Linked DNA regions of Homo sapiens: region 2 is linked to region 1. The links are contacts of gene promoters, found by promoter capture Hi-C in human tissues and cell types (Jung and others, 2019). All regions are on one chromosome and are shown on one strand. The core of a region is centred on a gene start or on the middle of the fragment in contact, and the rest is flanking DNA. Distances in the headings are between cores, read along the strand shown.

Evidence for each region. The method cuts DNA at HindIII sites, captures the fragments that hold promoters and counts their contacts. A contact is called where the count stands out against the background at its distance.
Region 2: a contact is called between the fragment with the promoter of RNASEH2A here and the fragment with the promoter of ZNF20 in region 1, in 1 of the 25 tissues and cell types used here (lymphoblastoid cells).

The regions. Positions count from the first base shown.
Region 1 is chr19:12,137,914-12,143,444 of GRCh38, reverse strand. It overlaps ZNF20 (zinc finger protein 20), which reads left to right and starts at 3,095. Exons shown (of 4, transcript NM_021143.4): 1 at 3,095-3,265. The coding sequence starts at 3,263. ZNF625-ZNF20 (ZNF625-ZNF20 readthrough (NMD candidate)) reads left to right here. Exons shown (of 8, transcript NR_037802.1): 4 at 730-804; 5 at 3,120-3,265. It also overlaps the pseudogene RPL17P47. RefSeq lists silencers at 3,309-3,518, 5,224-5,326. The HindIII fragment of the contact is 9,607 bases long and covers 713-5,531 here.
Region 2 is chr19:12,803,959-12,809,489 of GRCh38, reverse strand. It overlaps RNASEH2A (ribonuclease H2 subunit A), which reads right to left and starts at 2,906. Exons shown (of 8, transcript NM_006397.3): 1 at 2,690-2,906; 2 at 2,411-2,482; 3 at 2,161-2,284; 4 at 1,984-2,071. The coding sequence starts at 2,816. It overlaps THSD8 (thrombospondin type 1 domain containing 8), which reads right to left. Exons shown (of 2, transcript NM_001386800.1): 2 at 5,101-5,386. The coding sequence ends at 5,187. RefSeq lists enhancers at 2,803-2,852, 3,053-3,182 and a cis regulatory region at 2,627-3,659. The HindIII fragment of the contact is 8,217 bases long and covers 1-5,531 here.

The sequences.
Region 1 (5,531 bases), core at 1,846-4,345:
GCCTCCCAGGTTCAAGAGATTCTCCTGCCTCAGCCTCCTGAGTAGCTGGGACTACAGGCATGCGCCACCACGCCCAGCTAATTTTTGTATTTTTAGTAGAGATGGGGTTTCACCATGTTGGCCAGGATGGTCTCAATCTCTTGACCTCATGATCTGCCACCTTGGGCTCCCAAAGTGCTGGGATTATAGGCACCACGCCTGGCCCTAATCTCTTCTCAAAGTACTTTTTTCTTTAATGAATGTCTTAAATAAAAACTTTTTTCTAACCACAAACTTTTTTTTAAATTATTTTATTATGTAATTTTTTTTTAGAGAGTTGGTCTTGCTGTTTGGACCCGGCTGGAGTGCAGTGATATTCACAAGTGTGATCTTAGTGCATGAGAGCTTCATATTCCTGGGCTCACAATCCTTCTACCTCAGCCTGCCAAGTAGCTGTCACTACAGGTACCAGCTGCTGTGCCTGGCTTCCACCTTTTTTTTTTTTTTTTCTTTAATCAGTTCCTTTTAAAGACCAAAGAAAACCTGTCCTCTTGTGTGGCCTGAGTTGATCTATGAACATTATTCACTATGACCCAGAAAATCCCACGAAGTCGTGCATGTTAGAAGGATGAAACCCTCATGTTCACTGTAAACTGTGAAGGTGCTCAGGCCATCACAGGTATGCCTATATGAAAAGCCACCAAGTATCTGAAATATTTTCTTTTACAGAAATTATGTGTACCATTTCAGTCTTAGAAAGTGGAGTTGGTCGCTGTACGCAAGACAGACATTGGGGCTGGACTCACCATCAGTGGCCCCGAAAAGGTACTGAAATTTGCTTACAAGTGCAGAGTTATGCTGAACTTAAGGGTATAGATGTAGATTCCCTGGTTATTGAGCACATCCAGGGAAAAGGCACCCATAATGTACCACCTGACTTACAGAACTCATGGGCAGATGAACCCATCCACAAACTCCCCTGCCACATCCAGATGATGCTTAGTGAAAAGAAACACCTTGTTCCAAAAGCAGAAAAGGAGGATGCACGGAAGAAAAAGATACCCCAGAAGAAACATAAACTTAAGAGACAAACAAATTCAGCCAAAAGAAAATGCAAATAAAAGTTCAAAACAAAACAAAACAAAAAAACCTCTAAAATTCATAAAACACAAAATGACAAACTCTATTAAATATGCCCCTATGATATCTCTTAGATAAAAGTTGGCCGTAATAGAGAAAATGAAGATAGGTGTTGGTGACTGGCAGATTCTGGGTCTACGATGAATCAGAGAAGGATGGTTTTCACTTTGTTTTACATTTTTTTAATGCTTGATGTTGACTTGGTAGAAAGATGATAATAAAGAGATTCTTCTGTCTATGTGTTTCTTTTAGATTACTCATGTGGACTGAAGAAAAAAAATTAAATTTGTTAAAGAAAGTGAGTTTGATTTAGGATTGTGACTGAGGACAATAGCCTGGAAGCAGTTCTGACAGATGGCTGCTATGTAATATTTTGGTTCACAGTTTATAAGAGACATGTGGGCCCTGTGCTCTATCTTGTTTTTTCTTCAAAGCATAATTCTGGAGAGCTGGAGAGTCCCAGAGTCAGGAATGTTATAAAGTCAGGCTGGAAACCAGAAATAAGTAACATGACTAAACATTTGTGTGTTTTTTTGTTTTGTTTTGAGACAGAGTCTCGCTCTATTGCCCAGGCTGTAGTGCAGTGGTGCAATCTCGGCTCTCTGCAACCTCAGCCTCTTTGATACAAACGATTCTTCTGCCTCAGTCTCCCGAGTAGCTGGGATTACAGGTGGGCTCTACCACACCCGGCTAATTTTTGTATTTTTAGTAGAGACGGGATTTCACCATGTTGGTCACGCTGGTCTCCAACTCCTGATCTCAGGTGATCCAGCCACCTCGCCCTCCCAAAGTGCTGGGATTACAGGCTTGAGCCACAGCGCCCAGCCACTACTGCCTCACTTTCATGCAGTTAAATAATCTTGGACACTTCCTCCTCGACTTTATACATACACACTGGAGGAGAGCTTTGCTCGTGTGTTATTCTCGCAGTGGGATTGAGGATGTTTGTCTCATGGAAACTGATGAATGATGTGAGAAGCAGGTGAATAACCTGCAGGGGGCAGCAGAGACCGACGCCAGGGACGGGACGCTGAGGCTAGTATGGATCCTGCCAAGGAGTGAAGTGGAGTTCTGGGTGCTTCCTGGGCAGCCGCCCTCCCCTGCAGGTGGCTTGCAGCTGCTCAGAGCAGATCCAGAAAGAGTGTGGGTTCTGACATGCTGCAGCGCCCTGGAAAGCAGGAGACCCACGTGCAGGTGCACTTCAGGAGTTCTGTCCTTTCTGCGGCTGTACATCTGGAATCTGGGGCGGTTTTCGGGAGCAGTGTTTTGGGTTTGACATGCATAGAGTCCCTGGGGTCAGACTGTAATTTGCATATCTGAAGAAAATCCGTAAAGATCAAGTTCAGGGAAATAACTGTTTGGGACCTCTCCTGGAGAAGGGGCTTATGCAGTTGACAGTTTATTTAGGTCAGAAGCTTAAAATCACCAAGTGAGAGTTTTCTGCCGATGAAGATGAAGGTCTGGAAGGAGGGAGAGTTTCCACACTGTGAGGTGGGGTGAGATGTGTGAAAGCCTTGGCCATGTCTCATCCCTAATTCCGGGCCCCTGAAGGACAACTGCCTCTCCTTCTTGGTGCAGTCGTGCCTGGCCTGATCTGGGCTCCCCTTCCTGCTCTGAGGTCAGCACATCGCTCCATTGGACACTCAGTCTGGAATTCCCTGCACACACTTACAACCCTGTGCAGGACGAAGAAGCACTGACAGCCCATTGAATGAGGAAGAAGATAGTGCCCTGTGTAAAAATCAGGAGCAAATTTGGCTGAAAAGAAAATATCCAATGACCAGGGCTCAGGGAAGGAGTTGTCCCTTAGAGAGAAGCTGTGGCTAGAACCGATCAGTCCGGCTTTGCAGGGCTCGTTACCCAGGGCTTCTGCCGTCACTCAGTTCTGAGGGGGCGGGGCCTTGTACCTTGTCCAATCAGAAGCGCCGGGGCGGAGCCCGGCCAACGGTCCGTCCGGAAGGAGGAGGCCCATTCCAGCTTCTACTTTTGTTGCTATGCAGGTTGTTGTCGGGATACCAGATTTCCTACTCCGAGAGGCCCCGGGTCCCTCTGCCACAACTTCTGTCGCTCTGCCGCCTGCACCGTGACCCGCACTATTCACGGGAGCCCTAGAGAGGACACCGGGACACCCAGAAGCCGGGAAATGGTGAGTGTATGGGGCCGGAGTCCCCAGACGGGGGAGGGGCTGGGTGGAACCGGCCGGAAGCGGCTGTGGTGGGATCTGGGCCTCCTCGCCGCGCCTCCTGGATCTGGGACCCGAATCCCTCTGTCTCAGCTCGTCCCTGCGTCCCCTCGGCCGCAGGGTGCGGCTGGGCCGGCAGCCGGGACCCCGGGCGTCCTCCTGTTCTGTTCCTGCGCGGGCGACTGTGGGCCCCGACCCTGGAGCCCTCTCTGGGCAGCTCCGCGCCTGCAGCCCCGCGTCTCTTCAGATTTTGCGGGGACCACGGGAGGGTCATGGGGGAATCCTGCGGATTTTTTTTTCTGTTAAAGAGTTTGGGCCGGGCGCGGTGGACCATGCTTGTAATCCCAGCACTTTGGGAGGCCGAGGCTTGCGGATCACGAAGTCAGGAGATCGAGACCATCCAGGCTAACACAGTGAAACCCCGTCTCTACTAAAAATACAAAAAATTAGCCGGGCATGGTGGCATGCGCCTGTAGTCCCCGCTACTCAGGAGGCTGAAGCAGGAGAATCGCATGACCCCAGGAGACGAAGGTTGCAGTGAGCCGAGATCACGCCACTGCACTCCAACCTAGGGGACAGAGCGAGATTCCATCTCAAAAAAAAAAAAAAATTTAAAGAGTTTGAGCAAACAGCGATTCATGAGTGAGAAACGCCCAGTCATGATTTGTGGTTTTGGTACCAGAAAGTTTTAAGAAGAATTGCATTTTGTTAACGGTGGAGGGGGTCCAGGTTCTTGGCGTCTTGAACAAAGAATTGGACAAAACGCACAAAGCAAGGAAGGAATGAAGGGATTTAACACTCCACAGTGTGCAAGCGGGGCTGAGCACAGGGGCTCAAAGGCCCCGTTACAGAATTTTTGGGAGTTTAAATACCCCCTGGAGGATTCCATTGGTTACTTGGGGTATACTCTATGTAAAAGGAGAGGATGAAGTAAGGTTATAAAATCATTTACTTGGCTTACGCCCTATGGAGTAGGTATTTCCTTTCATAGCTGAAGTTTGAATAGGCCTTATGTTCCCTGCGTCCAGACCCTATTTTCCTGCCTCAATTTGAGTTTGATTTTGGTGTCCTTAGGTAGTTTCTTATAGCACTAAACACACTTCAGTCTAATTGCTGCTGCTTTAAATTTTTTCACACTGTCTATAGGGACTGGCTTCCTCCTGCATTTTCCTAATGTATGGGTCTCAAATCCTCCACCCTGCTACCCCGCCCTAACTCTTCAGCAGTTTGCAGTAACATCTTAAATTTTCAATTACTTTTCCGCATCTCCAAACATTAACTCCCCTTCTCCAACTCACAGTATTATCAACTTTCTTTTTTTTTTGAGACGGAGTTTCGCTCTTGTTGCCCAGGCTGGAATGCAATGGCATGATCTTGGCTCATTGCAACCTCTGCCTCCCGGGTTCAAGTGATTCTCCTGCCTCAGCCTCCTGTATCAACTTTCTTTATTGTAGAGTATATTTCTTCATCCTTTCTTTCACATAGATGCAGTATTTTAGTGGTTTATCATCTTTTCACAAGGTCATGGATAACTTTTTTTAAAATATTTGTGTTCTGTTTCTGAACATTTCACATAGAATAGAGAATAACCACTTGATACTCCAGTGAAAAACCTCTGTTCCTCTCCTCTTATCTTCGTAAGGCACAGACACCATCTCAGAATGTCTTTGGGTTGTTTCCTTTTTTTTTTTTTTTTTTGAGAGAAAGTCTCTCTTTGTAACCCAGGCTGAATTGAAGTGGCGTGGTCTTGGCTCACTGCAACCTCCGCCTCCCAGGTTCAGGTGATTCTCCTGCCCTCAGTCTCCCGAGTAGCTGGGTTTACAGGTATGCGCCACCATACCCCATGTATTTTAAGTAGAGATGGGGTTTCACCATGTTGGTCAGGCTGGTCTCGAACTCCTGAGCTCAAATGATCTGCCTGCCTCAGCCTCCCAAAGTGCTGGAATTTTACAGGCGTGAGCCACCGTGCCTGGCCTGTTTCCTTTTTGAAAACTTTACAGGGTGATGTGTCTTCAGGAGTCCCAATCTATCTTTTCCTGGTCCTGGGTTTCAGAACCGCCTGGGGCTGAACCAAAATGCCCACAGCTCCCATCTCTCCTGGCCTACTGAATATCAGCCCCTGTGTCAGTCCTCCCAGAGGATAGCCTGAGGCAGGGTGTGGGATCTCCCAAAGGAGCAACTGAATTTCCCAAATGGGAGGAGACTCCTGGTACACTCTTCATCTAGATAG
Region 2 (5,531 bases), core at 1,657-4,156, 670 kb before region 1:
GAATAAAGGCTTGAAGGAGGTGAGGAAGTGAACTGTGCAGAGATCTGGGGAAGAGGGCTCTAGGTGTGAGAACAGCCAGTACAAAGGCCCTGAGCTGGGACCAGGTTCATGATGCTGGGCCCATGCATGGGGGCCTTTGGCTGCAGCACCGAAGAGAGGGTCCAAGAGCTGCTGGGGGAAAGTGGTATCTCCACAGCACTACTGTTTTCAGAAACAACCTTTATTTTTTGTTTACCAGCTGACCATCTTTCATGTTTTATTTTTTTATTTTTTATTTTTAGTAGAGATGGGGTTTCACCATGTTGGTCAGGCTGGTCTCGAACTCCTGACCTGATGATCCGCCCGCCTCGGCCTCCCAAAGTGCTGGGATTACAGGCGTGAGCTACTGCGCCCAACCTCCAGCTGACCATCTTTCTGCCCAGGCTAGGCCCTGAACGCCTACGGGTAGGGCCCTTGTCTGTCTACACCAGTTACTGTATCGCCAGCTCTGCATTTGGGCCTGGTCCTCAGGTCCCTCCTCAGCAGGGTCTACCTTGCTATAATTCCTTTCTTTCTTCTTCTTTTTGTGGAGATGGAGTCTCGCTATGTTGCCCAGGCTGGTCTGGAACTCCTAGCCTCAACCAATTTGCTCACCTCAGCTTCCCAAAGTGCTGGGATTACAGGCGTGAGCCACCATACCCAGCATACAATTCCTACGTCAAGGTTATTTTGCCTTGTTATTCTCTCAGAACGGTCCATTCTTTCATTGAGAGCATTCGAGGCAATGCTGATTTATGTTTTTCTCTGGTAATTTAATGTAATTCTGCCCCACTCGACTGTGAATTTTCCTGATTTAATTTCCACTGTGATCGGAAAACTAAATGTCGAGATGTGCATTTCAAAAAGACTACCTTCTGTTGCTGCTTGGGGAACAGATTGGAGGGGATAGGAGGGTGAGGGACGAGAGACGACACTCAGCAGGTGTCCAGGGAGTGGGGGGTGTCCTGGGCTAGGACAGAGGTGACAGGTAGACAATGTAGGATTTGTTCTGGAGACTGAGCCTTTAGGATGAGGGAGAGATTAGATGGAGACGGGACTAGGGGCTACACTGTGGTCGTCAGTGTGGCACACATTTAGGGCAGAAACAGGAGCACGAAATCAACAGTAGCAATGAATATGCCCGAGGCACTCCAGACGTATCTGATGCTGAATCTGCACACTGCACATTTTTGCCCACATTTATTTTTTATTTTATTTTTATTTTTATTTTTCGCTCTGTCCCCCAGGCTGGAGTGCAATGGCGCGATCTCACCTCACTGCAACCTCCGCCTCCCGGGTTCGAGCAATTCTTCTGCCTCGGCCTCACCAATAGGTGGGATTACAGGCACCCGCCACCATGCTGGGCTAATTTTTTGTATTTTCAGTAGAGATGAGGTTTCACCATGTTGGCCAGGATGGTCTTCAACTCCTGACCTCAGGTGATCTGCCTGCCTCAGCCTCCTGAAACGCTGGGATTACAGCCGTGAGCCACTGCGCCTGGTCTCCCATTTTTAGTTTATTTTTTATTTTTTATTTTTTTGAGACAGGGTCTTGCTCTGTTGCCCGGGTTGGAGTGCAATGGCACAATCTTGGCTCACTGCAACTTCTGCCTCCTGGGTTCAAGCGATTCTCCTGTCTCAGCCTCCTGAGTAGCTAGGATTACAGGCGCCTGCCACCACGTCCAGCTAATTTTTGTATTTTTAGTAGAGACGGGGTTTCACCATGTTGGTCAGGCTGGTCTCGAACTCTTGACCTCCGGTGATCTACCCGCCGCGGCTTCCCAAAGTGCTGCGATTATAGGCGTGAGCCACTGCGCCCTGCCTCCATTTTTGAGTTGGGGGGCTTCCTTTGTCACCCAGGATGGAGTGCTGTGGCATGATCATGGCTCACTGCAGTCTCGAACTCCTGTTTTGTCCCCATTTTATCCTGAGATGACCAAATGGGGACAACTTACAGTTAACTCACCTGGGTGACGTTCACGCCCTGGTCCAATGCATACTGTATAAGCCCAGTGGCTGTATCATGTGACAGGGAGTTCAGGTTGTATTTGACCCTGTGGTGGGGAACAGAGCCCAGTTAATCTCATTCTAGGAACAAAGCTTGGTCAGCCCATGCTGGCTGCCCCTCCCGGGGACCCCTCACCGCCCAAGCATGCTGGTAGAGATGAGGTTTGGAGACAGCACATCCAGCGCCCAGCCGACAAAGTCCGTGTCCTCCATTTTCGCAAACAGCCTTTCCCGCTCGCTCTCCAATAGGGTCTTTGAGTCTGGGAGGAGGTTTGGAAGAGAAGGGGAACAGCTGGTTCTCCCAGTTCCTGCCCTCCCCTTTCAGTTCTCACCTGCCCCTGCACATACCCAGGAATCCCTTCCCCAGACGCACACCTCGGGCTCACCTGCCACTTTCAGCGCCTCCAGATCTGCCAGGCGAGGCAGGGGACAATAACAGATGGCGTAGACCATGGGGCCTGGGGAGAAGGGGTGTCAGTTTTCTGGCAGCCGGGGTCCAATCACTGAGCCCGTGAAAGTTGCCATTCATCCCTGTTCTATCATCACTGCTTCTTTAGGTGCCATCACCACGACCACATCCCCTCCCTTGGTGCAGTGCAATCCCGACTCCCGTTTCCCGCATCCTCCGTACCACGCCCCTCCCCTCCCTGGCCCTAGGGGCGCACCCAGCACGGGGCCCCTGCCCGCCTCATCGACGCCCAGGACGCAAGGCTCCTTGCGGCACACCGCGGGCACAGGCGAACTCAGGCGACAGCGGCCTGTATTGTCTCTCTCCAGCTCGCTGAGATCCATGCCGCCTCAGCCGCCACCACCAGCTGCAAGAACTAATACTGCAGGAGCGGGTCTCGGCGCGCGTTTTCCGCGGGCCTCGAAGCGGCGCCTGCTTCCGGCCAATCCGCGGGCAGAACACGCCCCTGGCGCTCCCGCCGCCGTGGACGCTTACGCAGCCGACGCCGACGTCGCTGCCGTGCGCCCTCCTGGGAATTGTAGTCCCGAAGGGCTATGGCCGAACACTCAGCTTGGGGAATTCGGTGGACGGGGTCACTTTGCAAGCTCTGCTTCACGGTCTCTGGGGCCCCGCCTGCGTGGCCCGGTGGGAAGAGGGGGAAATAAGAGGGAAACTGAGACGTAGCTTCGAAGACCCAGCCTAACGGGGAACTAGAGAGTCAAATATCACCCCACTCCCAGGACACGGGTCACCGCATCACTGGGTCCCCAACTGCCACTTGGATTCAGGCCCTGTACTTGCGGTCCCTGCTTCTGTACACATTCTAAGTCCCCTGGACCAGGTAGCCCCGCTTCCACTAAACCCAGGCTTTTGGATTTGGAGTCCCCAAACTCCCTCTCTTGGTTGCTCCCTTCGGCCCACCTCCACTCCGTGCAAGATCTGTGCTTCCTAACCTCTGTCTCATTCAGGCCAAGCCTTCCCCACCCCCGTTGGAGATCACAGACCTCGGTGGACTCCTGCTCAGGGTCTCTGCTCCCTATAGAAGCTCATTCCTCCCAACTTAGAATGAATGTCCCCACCCCCACCCCTCGACCCACTTTTTTTTTTTCTTTTTTTTTTTTTTGAGACAGAGTCTCGCTCTTGTCGCCCAGGCTGGAGTGCAATGGCGCCATCTCCGCTCACTGCAAGCTCCGCGTCCCGGGTTCACGCCATTCTCCTGCCTCAGTCTCCCGAATAGCTGGGACTACAGGCGCCCGCCACCACACCCGGCTAATTTTTTGTACTTTTTAGTAGAGATGGGGTTTCACCGTGTTAGCCAGGTTGGTCTCGATTTCCTGACCTTGTGATCCGCCCGCCTCGGCCTCCCAAAGTGTTGGGATTGCAGGCGTGAGCCACCGCACCCGGCCTTCTTTTTTTTTTAGACAGGGTCTCTCTCTGTTGTCCAGGCTGGAGTGCAGTGGCGCGATCTTGGCTCACTGCAACCTCCACCTCCTGGGCTGACGCGATCCTCCCACCTCAGTCTCCCAAGCAGCTGGACTACAGGTGCACACCACACCACCATGCCCGACTATTTTTGGTATTTTTTGTAGAGACGGGGTCTCATTATGTTGCCCAGGCTGGCTTCAAACTCCTGGGCTCAAGCGATCCGGTCGCCTCAGCCTCCCAAAGTGTTGGGATTACAAGCCTGAGCCAGCCACAGTGCCTGGCATCCACCACTTCTATTCCCTGGGCTCACTGGGGCTCATGTCCTCTGCCTGTGGGTTCCCGCCCCTTACCAGGCTCATGCCCCTTCCTCAGGGTCCTAGTTCATTGTCTCTTTATCTCCTTTTACTCCTCTTCGCCTCCCCCTCCACTTTTTTTTTTTTTTTTTTTTTTTTTTTTTTTTTGAGACAGGATGTTACTCTGTTGCCCAGGCTGGATAGCAGTGTAGCGATCTCGGCTTATTGTAACCTTTGCCTCCCAGGCTCAAGCGATCCTTCCTCCCCATCGTACCGAGTAGCTGGGACCACAGGCATGTGCCGCCACGCTCATCTAACTTAAATGTTTTTGTTTGTTTGTTTGTTTGGTTGGTTTTTTTTGAGACAGAGTCTCGCTCTGTCGCCCAGGCTGGAGTGCAGTGGCGCGATCTCGGCTCACTGCAGGCTCCGCCTCCCGGGTTCATGCCATTCTCCTGCCTCAGCCTCCCGAGTAGCTGGGACTACAGGCGCCCGCCACCGCGCCCAGCTAATTTTTTATATTTTTAGTAGAGACGGGGTTTCACCGTTTTAGCCAGGATGGTCTCGATCTCCTGACCTTGTGATCCGCCTGCCTTGGCCTCCCAAAGTGCTGGGATTGCGGGCGTGAGCCACCGCGCCCGGCCTAATTTTAAAAATTTTTATGGAGAGGTGATCTCAACGATATTGCCCAGACTAATCTTGAACTCCAGGACTCAAGAGATCCGCCTGCCTCGGCCTCCCAAAATGCTGGAATTACAGGCGTGAGCCCCGGCGCCCGGCGCCCCCTCCACTTTTCTCCTTTTCTCCCTAGATATCAGCGGGGCTCACGGCTCCTGACTCAGCTTCCCCCTAACCAAATCAGCCTCAAGTCACTCAAGACTTGGAGCCCCAGTTCTCCCTTCCTCAAACTCGCTTCATACCCGCCCCGCACCGCACATCCTCCCTCCGCGCCCACCCTGGGCCCCGCAACTTGCCCCGGCCCTGCTCTCTCACCCGGGCTCAGAGCCTCCAGTCGCAGTCGAAGGGCTTGCAGGATGGACAATCCCGTTGCCGGCAGGGCCGTAACTGGATCAGCTTCTCCGGGTCCATGAAAACCGGGCCCGGCGCTGTGCCCACTACCTCGCGGCTGCGCTCCTGCTTGCCCAGGTCGCAGAGACACCGCCACTTTCCCCACGGGCCAAGGATTGAGTCCTCGACTTCTAGAGAAGGAGGGCAGAGGTGAAGACCTACGTGGAGGGGGCCTACTCCCAATCCCCTCCCCCAGAGAGGGAGAAAGATAAAGATACTAACGAATAAGAGAAGCACATATTCGCTAGACTCTGCTTCTATGCCAGACACCCTGCC